Regions from separate parts of the Homo sapiens genome. Here region 2 is linked to region 1. The links are contacts of gene promoters, found by promoter capture Hi-C in human tissues and cell types (Jung and others, 2019). All regions are on one chromosome and are shown on one strand. The core of a region is centred on a gene start or on the middle of the fragment in contact, and the rest is flanking DNA. Distances in the headings are between cores, read along the strand shown. Region 1 overlaps ZNF845 (zinc finger protein 845). Region 2 holds the start of ZNF415 (zinc finger protein 415).

What was found. The method cuts DNA at HindIII sites, captures the fragments that hold promoters and counts their contacts. A contact is called where the count stands out against the background at its distance.
Region 2: the fragment with the promoter of ZNF415 here is called in contact with a fragment that was not itself captured in region 1 in 2 of the 25 tissues and cell types used here (bladder and pancreas).

Annotation. Positions count from the first base shown.
Region 1 is chr19:53,351,310-53,357,188 of GRCh38, reverse strand. It overlaps ZNF845 (zinc finger protein 845), which reads right to left. Exons shown (of 4, transcript NM_138374.3): 4 at 283-5,879. The coding sequence ends at 3,601. It also overlaps the pseudogene LOC107987264. Among named protein-coding and RNA genes, the nearest start is that of ZNF525, 11 kb to the left of the region's middle. The HindIII fragment of the contact is 6,579 bases long and covers 1-5,756 here.
Region 2 is chr19:53,130,115-53,135,993 of GRCh38, reverse strand. ZNF415 (zinc finger protein 415) reads left to right here and starts at 3,084. Exons shown (of 4, transcript NM_018355.4): 1 at 3,084-3,138. It overlaps ZNF347 (zinc finger protein 347), which reads left to right. Exons shown (of 5, transcript NM_032584.3): 5 at 1-1,059. The HindIII fragment of the contact is 11,962 bases long and covers 1-5,879 here.

The DNA of each region.
Region 1 (5,879 bases), core at 1,218-3,717:
GGTGATCCACCTGCCTCACTGTCCCAAAGTGCGTGAGGCACCGCACCCAGCTTCATTTTGAATTACTTAATTTACTACTGAGATAGATGTACTATCTTTTTTGTTGTTGGCATTTCAAAGACAGAACTCCCAAGTCCTTTAGAAAAACACCCCTGGATCACCACTAAGATGAAAACAAGTTTTATTGTTTCTAAAAAATACCACTTCTGAAGACAGAGAAAATACATTTACAAATTTTCTTTTTTTTTTTTTTTTTTTTTTGAGACAGAGTCTCGCTGTCACCCAGGCTGGAGTGCAGTGGTGCGATCTCGGCTCACTGCAGGTTCCGCCCCCCTGGGTTCACGCCATTCTCCTGCCTCAACCTCCCGAGTAGCTGGGACTACAGGTGCCTGCCACCTCGCCCAGCTAATTTTTTGTATTTTTAGTAGAGACGGGGTTTCACCGTGTTAGCCAGGATGGTCTCGATCTCCTGACCTCGTGATCCGCCCACCTTAGCCTCCCAAAGTGCTGGGATTACAGGCGTGAGCCACCACGCCCGGCCTCATTTACAAATTTTCTAAATAAACGTCCTGAGAAAAGAGACAAAAGGAAGGGAAATCTTTTCCTTTATTCTCAAAGGAGGAATTATGCCTCTCATTTATTTGCTTGTTTGAGACAGGGTCTAGCTCTGTCACCCAGGCTGGAGTGCAGTGGTGAGATCAGGGCTCACTTCAGCCTCAAAATCCCTGCTTCAACTGATCCTCCCACTTCAGTGCCCAGAGTAGCTGGGACCACAGCAGTGCACCACCACACCTGGCTGACTTTTTTTACTTTTAGCAGAGAAGAGGTCCCCTATGTCGCCCAGGCTGGTCTTGAATCCCTAGGCTCACGTCACCCACCTGCCTGGGCCTCTAAAACCGCTGGGATTACAGGCCTGAGCCACTGCGTCTGGTCTCATCGTAAATTTGATGTTTCTTCTTGTTTTAACAGAATTTGTATTGCTGTGATAGAGGTTCTTTTCAAACTGATGTCTTATCCTTCTGAGTGCCTCAAACTAGAGCCTGTTCAGACGTTATAACAAGTTTATACTGGTTTATTTTGGTACAAAAAGTGTGAAATTTATGCACAAATTTTTCATAATATGTATTTTTCCATGAACTTCTTGAAGACCCTTATACTAGCAAACTGTATTCAAGAGGATATAAAAAGGGATTGTAAACATCCAAGTGCTACCTATTCATGGGATGCAAGGATGGTTCAACATACTCAAATCAATGGGATACACACTTGCACAGAATGACAGATAAAAAACACATTATCTCAATAGATAGAGAAAAAGCATTTCACAGAACTCAATATTCATTCTTCGTAAAAATCCTAAACAATATAGGTAGAGTTTTACCTCAAAAATATAAAAATCATCCATGAAATGACCACAGCTGAAATAACCAATGAAGGAAAATGGAATGGTTTTCCTGTAGGATATCACATGATGCAAGAATGCTCTCACCCCTGATATTCAATAAATACTGGCTGTCCTAGGCAGAGCAATTAAATAGCAAAAGAAATAAAACTCATCCAAATCAGAAAGACAGAAGTAAAATTACATTTGTTGGGGCCGGGCTCATGGCTCACACCCATAATCCCAGCAATTTGCAAGTCCGAAGTGGGCGGATAATGAGGTTAGGCGATCTAACATATTCTTTCAAGTTCTCTTCAAGGTACTCACCATGTTGGCCCACCATCTGGGCCAACATGGTGAAACCCCGTCTTTACTAAAATAAAAAAAATAAATAAATTAGCTAGGTGTGGTGACATGCGCCTGTAGTCCCAGCTACTCAGGAGGCTGAGACAGAATTGCTTGGACGTGGGAGACAGAGGTTGCAGTGAGCAAAGATCATTCCACGGCACTCTAGCCTGGCGACAGAGAGAGACATTGTCTCAAAAAAAAAAATTATTTCCTTGTAGATGATACGACATTCTATATAGAAAATCACTGGCTGGGTGCGGTGGCTCACACCTGTAATCCCAGAACTTTGGGATGCTGATGGGGGCGGATCACCTGAAGTCAGGAGTTCAAGAAAAACCTGGTCAACATGGTGAAACCCCGTCTCTACTAAAAATACAAAAAAATTATACGGACATGGTGGCAGGCACCTGTAATCTCAGTTAGTAGGCAGGAGAATCACTTAAACCCGAAAGGCAGAGGCTGCAGTGAGCCAAGATCGTGCCATTGTACTCCAGTCCAAGTGACAAGAGTGAGACTCCTTCTCAAAAAAAAAGAAAAGAGCCTGGGTAACAGAGTGAGACTGTCTCAAAAAAAAAAGAAAGAAAATCACAAAGAATCAACCAAGATTTTACTGATACTAATAAACCCACTCAATGTATTTGCAGAATACAAAATCAGCACCCAAAATTAGTTGAATTTCCTTACATTAACAATAAATAATGTTTAAAGAAACTTATGAACACACTTCAATTTGCTATGAAACTTAATACTTACAAATAAACTGAATTAAGGAGGTGAGAAGCTTGTACCTTGAAATCTACATTGATCAAAAAAACTAAATAGACATACAACCCATATTGATGGATTGGAAGTCTTAATATTGTTGAATGATTATACAAACAAATGTGATTTAGATTCAACAGATACCCATAAAAACCCGTAACAGTTTTTATTAAAGAAACAAAATACAGGGTGGGAAAAGTGACTCATGTCTGTTGGCCAGTCTGGTCTCAAACTCCTGACCTCAAGTGATCTATTGGTCTTGGCCTCCCAAAGTGCTGGGATTACAGGCGTGAGCCACCCCGCCTGGCCCAATCTTCTTAACATAAACACTTTAATGTCAATTAATGCTTGAACTCAATGTTAAGTCAATTCAAACTCAAGTCAATGCTGAATTGACTCTAATGCCAATTAATGCTTGATGGTTTGCTATACTCATTGCATTTGGAACAATCATCTCAAAAATGAATTTTCTGATGTTCCTTAAGGGGTGATCTCAGACTGAAGACCTTGCCACACTGATGACATTTGTAAGATTTCTGTCCAGTATGGATTCTCTGATGTCTAATTAGGTGTGAACGTGAAGTAAAGGCTTTGCTGCAATCATCATACTTGTGAAGTTTGTCTCCTGTATGAAGTCTCCTGTTTTGCATAAGATGAAGCTAGACTGAAGACCTTGCCACAATCATGACATTTGTAAGGTTTCTCTCCAGCATGAGTTCACCGATGAACTGCAAGGTATGAACAATGTCTGAAAAATTTGCCACATTTATTACACTTTCAAAATCTCTCATTATGGATTCTCCAATGATTTGAAACGGTTGTAGTGTTACTGAAGACTTTGTGATAATCATTACATTAGTAAAGTTTCCCTATACCATGGATTGCCTGATGGTGAATAAGTGTTGACTGCCCACTAAAGGCTTTGCCACACTCAGTACACTTGTAAGGTTTCTCTCCAGTGTGACTTCTAGTTTGTTGGGCCAGGTGTGAATCACGCCCAAGATTCTTGTCACAAACTCTTACATTTGTAAGCTTTCTCTCCAGTATGAATTCTCCTGTCTTTCAAGACTTGATTTACAACTGTAAACTTTGTCACATTCTTCATATTTCTAATGTTTCTTTCCAGTATGAATTCTATGATGACGTGCAAGTTTTGCTTTTCGATTAAAAACCTTGCCACATTCATTACACTTGTAAGGTTTCTCTCCAGTATGAATTGTCTTATGAATTACAAGGACTGAATTGTGACGGAAGGTTTTGCCACACTCATTACACTTGTAAGGTTTCTCTCCAGTATGAATTCTATGATGACATGCAAGGTGTGCTTGTTGATTAAAAACCTTACCACATTTATTACACTTGTAAGGTTTCTCTCCAGTATGAAGTCTATGATGACGTGAAAGGTTTGCTTTTCTATTAAAAACCTTGCCACATTCACTACACTTGTAAGGTTTTTCTCCAGTATGAATTGCCTTATGAATTTCAAGGGCTGAATTGTGACGGAAGGTCTTGCCACACTCATTACACTTGTAAGGTTTCTCTCCACTATGAATTGCCTTATGAATTACAAGGGCTGAATTGTGACGGAAGTTCTTGCCACATTCATTACACTTGTAAGGTTTCTCTCCAGTGTGAATTCTAGTATGTTGTGCCAGGTGTGAATCACGCCCAAAAGCTTTGTCACAAACCTTACATTTGTATGGTTTCTCTCCAGTATGAATTCTCCTGTGTTTTTCAAGGCTTGATTTGCGACTGAAAACTTTGTCACATTCTTCACATTTGTAAGGTTTCTCTCCAGTATGAAGTCTAAGATGGCATGTAAGGGATGACTTCTGACTGAAGGCCTTGCCACACTCATTACACTTGTAAGGTTTCTCTCCAGTATGAATTGCCTTGTGAATTATAAGGGCTGAATTTCGACCGAAGGTCTTGCCACACTCATTACACTTGTAAGGTTTCTCTCCAGTATGAAGTCTACGATGGCATGTAAGGTATGACTTCCGACTAAAGGTCTTGCCACATTCATTACACCTGTAAGGTTTCTCTCCAGTATGAATTCTCCTATGTCTTTGAAGGTTTGATTTGAAACTGAAAGCTTCATCACATTCTTCACATTTGTAAGGTTTCTCTCCACTATGAGTTCGCCAATGAACTGCAAGGTATGAACGATGTCTGAAAAATTTGCCACATCTATTACACTTGTACGATCTCTCTTCATTATGGATTCTCCAATGATTTGCAATGGTTGTAGCATTACTAAAGACTTGGTGACAATCATTACATTTGTAAAGTTTCCCTATACCATGGATTGCTTGATGGTAAATAAGTGCTGACTGCCCACGAAAGGCTTTGCCACACTCATTACACTGGTAAGGTTTCTCTCCAGTATGAAGTCTACAATGGCGTGTAAGGGATGACTTCCGACTAAAGGTCTTGCCACATTCATTACACTTGTAAAGTTTCTCTCCAGTATGAATTATCCTATGTCTTTCAAGGTTTGATTTGAAACTGAAAGCTTCATCACATTCTTCACATTTGTAAGGTTTCTCTCCAGTATGAAGTCTACGATGGTATACAAGGGATGATGTCTGACTGAAGGTCTTGCCACAATCATTACACTTGTAAGGTTTCTCTCCAGTATGAATTCTCCTATGTCTTTCAAGGTTCGATTTGAAACTGAAAGCTTCATCACATTCTTCACATTTGTAAGGTTTCTCTCCAGTATGAAGTCTACGATGGTATACAAGGGATGACATCTGACTGAAGGTCTTGCCACAATCATTACACTTATAAGGTTTCTCTCCAGTATGAAGTCTACGATGGCGTGTAAGGGATGACTTCCGACTAAAGGTCCTGCTGCATTCATTACACTTGTAAGGTTTCTCTCCAGTATGAATTTTCCTATGTCTTTCAAGGTTTGATTTGAAACTGAAAGCTTTGTCACATTCTTCACATTTGTAAGGTTTCTCTCCAGTATGAAGTCTACGATGGTACACAAGGTATGACGTTTGACTGAAGGTCTTGCCACATTCATTACACTTGTAAGATTTCTCTCCAGTATGAATTGCCTTATGAATTACAAGGGCTGAATTTCGACTGAAGGTCTTGCCACACTCACTGCACTTGTAATGTTTCTCTCCAGTATGAAGTCTATGATGGCATGTAAGGGTTAACTCCTGACTGAAGGTCTTGCCACAATCATTACACTTGTAAGGTTTCTTGCCAGTGTGACATCTACGATGACATGCAAGATATCGCTTTTGATTAAAGACCTTGCCACACACATCACATTTATATTGTTTCGCTCCTAAATGGATTATCTGATGTTTCCTTAAGACTGAGCTATAATTAAAGGCTTTGCCACTCTCATTACATTGGAAAGATTTTT
Region 2 (5,879 bases), core at 1,835-4,334, 220 kb after region 1:
TTCCTACTGTGGCTGGTATTTCTTTTCTGAGCCAGAGGATCTTACAGCAAAACATGATATTTGTGCAACTTTTGCAATGACAGCTGCCATTTAATATACTCCCCTTAGATTTGTTTCCATTTTAAAAAACTGATATATATTCTTTAATAAGTGATTTATCTTTGCATATATATTTTATATCAATCACATTTAGAGTAAGAATCACAGTTATTAATGCTTTATGTGTAACAACTGAATCATCAGCTCCTGAAATAAGTATTAATGATATTCTCATTTCAGAGGTGAGGAAACTTAGGACAGATAAGCAAAATAATCAAATTAGGCTGGGCACAGTGGCTCATGCCTGTAATCCCAGCACTTTGGGAGGCCGAGGCGGGGGGATCACCTGAGGTCAGGAATTCGAGACCAGCCTGATCAACATGGTGAAACCCCGTCTCTACTAAAAATACAAAAATTAGCTGGGTGTGATGGCGGGCGCCTGTAATCCCAGCTATTCGGGAGGCTGAGGCAGGAGAATTGCTTGAGCCTGGGAGGCGGATGTTGCAGTTAGCCGAGTTCCCACCATTGCACTCCAGTCTCAGTGACAGAGCGGGACTCCATCTCTCTCTCTCTCTCTCTCTCTCTTTCTCTCTCTCTCTCTCTCTCTCTCTCTCTATATATATATATATATATATATATATATATATATATATATTTAGAAAATGGGTAGAACTATGAAGAGACATTTCACTGAAGCAGTTATACTGAGATAAATAGGCACATAAAAAGATTTCCAACATCACCATCCATCAAATCTCAGATCTCAGCATATTCTGCTTTAAAAGACTCATCTTGTCACATTTCAGTAAGAGGCAGAATCGAGATTTGAATCCATGTTGTCTGGTTGCAAAGACAAAGCTTTTAATGATGATGCTACAGTAACAATGCTAGTTATTTTTGTCCTTTACTCACCATCTATACCTATTTTGTTAGTATCTCTTGTAATTTTTAAATGGTTTATCTTCATATATCATTGTGATTGTGGTAACTTTGTATTAAATCTATATTTTTATAGATCAATTAAGTCTATATTTTATAGATCACTATTGCGTATGCATCTTACCTAAATGAATGACAGAGACACTCATTACCACATAATCCTGTAAGAACGATTATCCAATCTTTCGAAGGAGGCATCCAGTACCTGAGGTGTTAGTTCTAGTGGTGGCCAGGCGCTGTAGCTCACCCCTGTAATCCCAGCACTTTGGGAGGCCAAGGGGGGTGGATCTCCTGAGGTCAGGAATTGGAGACCAGCCTGGCCAACATGGTGAAAACCCATCTCTACTAAAAATACAAAAAATAGCTGGGTGTGGTGGCGCGTGCGTGTGGTTGAAGCTACTCAAGAGGCTGAGGCAGGAGAATCGCTTGAGCCTGGGAGGTAGAGGTTACAGTAAGCTGAGATCACACCACCGCACTCCAGCCTGGGTGACAGAACAAGACTCTGTCTCAAAAAAAAAAAAAAATCACTAATAATGACAAAGTGCATATTTCTTGAGCTGAGAATATTTTTGTATCTGTGTTTCCATTGTTCGTTTCCAAAAACAATTACAGGTTGCTAATACACATCAACTGGACTGTTCAGTAGAAGCTCCTGTGTTTCTCATGATCTCTGACAGCATCCAGGGGTTCACATGGAGAAAGCAGAATATGCTGAGGTCTGAGATTTGATGGATGGTGATGTTGGAAATCTTTTTATGTGCCCATTTATCTCAGTATATCTGCTTCAGTGAAATGTCTCTTCATAGTTCTATCCATTTTCTAATTTGATTATTTTGCTTTTTTTTTAAGTCGTTCTAGGATTCTTTATACATTCCACATACCAGTTTTATGTCAGATATATGGTAGGCAAATATTTTCTATTATTCAGTACTGTATTAGTCCATTTTCACACTGCCTAAACCCTCCTGTGACAACCTGAGACTGGGTAATTTATAAACAAAAGAGGTTTAATTGACTCACAGTTCCGCATGGCTAGGGAGCCCTCAGGAAACTTACAATCATAGAGGAAGGCAAAGGCGAAGCAAGGCACGTCTTGCTTGCAGCAGGAGAGAGAGCGATCAAAGGAGGAACTATCACAGATTTTTAAACCATGAGATCTCCTGAGAGCTCACTATCATGAGAACGGCTTGGGGAAAACCACCCCCATGATCCAGTCACCTCCCACCAGGTCCCTCCCTCAACACCTGAGGTTTATACTTGAAAATGAGATTTGATGGGGACACTGAGCCAAACCATATCAAATACCTTTTCTTTCATCGTCTGAAGGTCTTTCACAGACCAAAAGTTTTTAATTTGGTAAATACCAGTTGATTTTTTTTTTCTTTAATGAATCATGCTTTTGCTGCTATGGCTAAGAATTTTTGAACAAGCTCTTGATTCTTACGATTTTATTGTGAGTAATTTTTTCTTTCAGTCTCCTACAGGATACCATTTTATGGTTTGATATTTTACATTTAGGCTATGGTCAATGTTGAACTAATGTCTGTACGGTTGTGAAGTTTGAGTAGAGATGACTTCTTTCCTGCTGTGGATATTAAGTTAGCCCCTCACCAGTTTTTAAAAATTCTTCATTCAATTCCCTTGGTAACTTTGTCAAAAATCAGTTGGAAGTACCTGTAGAGGCTATTTTTGTACTCTCTTACTGTATTGCATCAATCCATATGTCTTTTATTGCCCCAAAACCACACAGTTTTTATTACCTTTCCTATATTGGTAGTCTTGAAATCCAGTGGAGTGATTCCAGACACTTCATTTTTGTTTTTTGGTAACTTTTATGGATCCAATCACTGCTAGTTTTGGATTCCCCACCGAAATCCCAGTTCCCGGACTGCTAAGCTGCAGGAGACTCCCTAGCAGGATCGGGTCCAACCTGCAGGCAAAATAGTTTTAACATAAACCGTTTTCAACTTGGTAAGTGGAAAACATTTTGGTTTCCACCATAAGTGGCCCACACAACTCTGATTTTTTTACCTTAAAGCGGCGCAGACCCCGCCCACTCCAGCCATTCCTTCAGGCTGCCCGGGCTCTTCTCTCCGCGCATGCGCAGTTTCCTACAGGCCCGGAAACGGATCGCGTTGGGTGAAGGTGACGGCGTCGAGCGTGAGTGACCCTCTGTGTAGATTAAACCTGCGCTCCCTGTTTCCCATTTCCACAGCCGATGTCCAGGGTCGATACGGCCCTTAAAATCCCCGTACACTCCACCCCAGGTGAATACAGGCCTCGCAGTGTGGGTCCGGAGTCGCTTCCCTTTGGGTTGAAGTCGCTTTGAGGCTGCTCCCCGTCCCCGGCCTTTTGCTTCTTCCTCCCGCTTAAAACCTTTTCCTGACCCCCTCCCCCATCCCCGGGCTTTTTAAAGTCTTCACCCAAGAGGTGTATTCCCGTCCTGGGTGCCTCCCAGCCTTGCCCTCGTCGGCCCCTGGAGCGCAGCGCCGCAGCTGCAGCCGCAGTCCCGGGGAGCCTTGCGTCCTCTGCCTGGTCCTGGGATCCTGCAGACCCCACCCCTGTCTGAAGGCGCTGTCGCGCCCCACCTCCCTCCTCCTCGTGCCGGGCCCCGCTGCTCCCCAGGCCTCCCCTGAGCCCGCGCTGGGGAGGTGCTCAGGGCCTGTCCTGTGACACCCGATGTTCTTGCCTGCCCTCCTCCACCCCGTGGAAAATGCGCTCCTCCAGGATGCAGGCGTCTTACCCCAAACCGTCCTGTGAATGTGTGGGCCAAAGGGATCGAGGGACAGAGAGAGCAGTAGAAAACCTGAGACAGGAAGGAATGAGGCAAACCAATAAACAGATGGCAAAGTAGAGGATGGTTAGAGATTTTCAGAGACAGTAAGAGTGGAAGAAGAAGCCGAGAAAGTAGCAGGGAGAGAAAAGTAACTAGACACATTTCGAGAAAAAGCACAGTATCCAGAGAGATGAAGGACAGCCAGGTAGGGAGAGGGGCAGCAAAGGAGGAGGCTCCTCAGACAGAGAGTGGGGGAGAGCAGAAGGGATTTGGAGCCAGGGCAGACAGGGCAGTGTGGTACCGGGACAGCAAGAGGGGGCAGCCGATGACAAGGAGAAGCAGAGGGAGAACCACAGCACGGGGAGGCCTGGGATCTGGGGGTGCCAAAGAGTGGGGACAACGGTGTGTAACAGGGAAGAGGGAATTTAACAGGGAGTGCTGAAATGGGGAAGAAAGAGCCAGAAATATGTGGAGACTGGGACAATGAAAAGATTAGGAAGAAAGAGGAATTAAATACATTGCAAGAATGGAAAGAGCAAGTGGAAGAGAAAGAATAGAGGGAAGACGGGGAGGAGCAGCAGGAGAGGAGAGGGGCTCAAAATGAGCAGAATCCTAGGGAGAAAATAAAGGGGAAGGAAAGAGCTAGAGAAAGAAGGTGAGAATGAGAGCGATGTACGGAACGAGGGAGGGAAACACACCATAATGAGGAAAGAGGGGGACCCCAGGTCCAGGTGAGTTGTGAACTGACTGGATGTGATGACTACCTTTTGACCTGTTGATTTCTGTCTTTATAAGTTTAAAATGCACAGATGATGAGAATTGCAAAGCTCCTGTCTATTAAGGCTGGTGCATTTTATAATTATGGCATCAGAAGTTAGCTTCCACTTGCAATCCCTGTTAAGGCAGAGGGAAGTGACTTGACTCATTAATTCCACAGGTCATCCTCTTCCCCTTCCCTGGCGTTGGGGCAGGGGGAGGGGAAGGGGGAGTGGGAGAGTAAAGCTGGGCAGAAAGTGAAAGACTGTCACTACATAGTGTCTCTCTAAAGCAGGGGTGTCCAATCTTTTGGCTTCCCTGGGCCACATTGGAAGAAGAATTGTCTTGGGCCACACATAAAGTACACTAACACTAACAATAGCTGATGAGCTAAAAAAAAAAAAAAAAAAAAAAAAAAAAGTTGCAAGAAAATCTCAAAATGTTTTAAGGAAGTTTAGGAATTTGTGTTGGGCTGCATTCAAAGCCTTCCTGGGCTGCGGATTGGACAACGTTGCTCAAAAGGAACATTAAAAGTGTTGAGGCTGGGCATGGTGGCTCATGCCTGTAATCCCAGCACTTTGGGAGGCCGAGGTGGGTGAATCACAAGGTCAGTAGTTCAAGACCAGCCTGGCAAAGATGGTGAAACCCCATCTCTACTAAAAATACAAAACTTAGCCAGGTATGGTGACACGCATCTGTAATCCCAGCTACTCAGGAGGCTGAGGCAAAGCATTGTGTAAACCCGGGAGGCGGAGGTTGCAGTGAGCCAAGAGCCGAGATCCGGTGACAGAGCAAGACTGCGTCTGAAAAAAAAACAAAGAACAAACAAAAAAAGTGTTGTTGCTTTTTGTAATTGATTTGCTTTTTTTCTTACTAATTCCCTTTCATCTCATGTATAGTTCATTTTGCAACTTGAGATAGATCTTCATTAATTCAGTTTCTATTTTTCTGTATATAATTATTTCCAAAGTAACTTTGGTGGCATCCTATAATCAGCTCATGGCATTTTCTAAATATAATGTGTTTTCAATTTTTTTAGCTCCAAAATTCATCAGATATTTCTTAACAATTTCAAAATCTTTCCCTTTGAAATTAATTGTGTCCAGTTTTGATAGAGGTCTGCATGCTTTCTGCTCTTTATTATATAATAGAAGCATTATTTGTTGACTAGTAGGTAATTTTAGATTGTTTCAATGTGTACCTGATAAAGATGTCAATGATGTTTTTACCTTAACATGGAAACCTAGTTTAACTAGTCTATTATTCAATTTTCTTCTTTTGTGTAATTTGTTAAAATAGTAAGCTGTGAGCTGCATTTGGAACCAATGTGATAAAACCTTGAAGAAGTTTCTTTTGCTCAGATATGTGA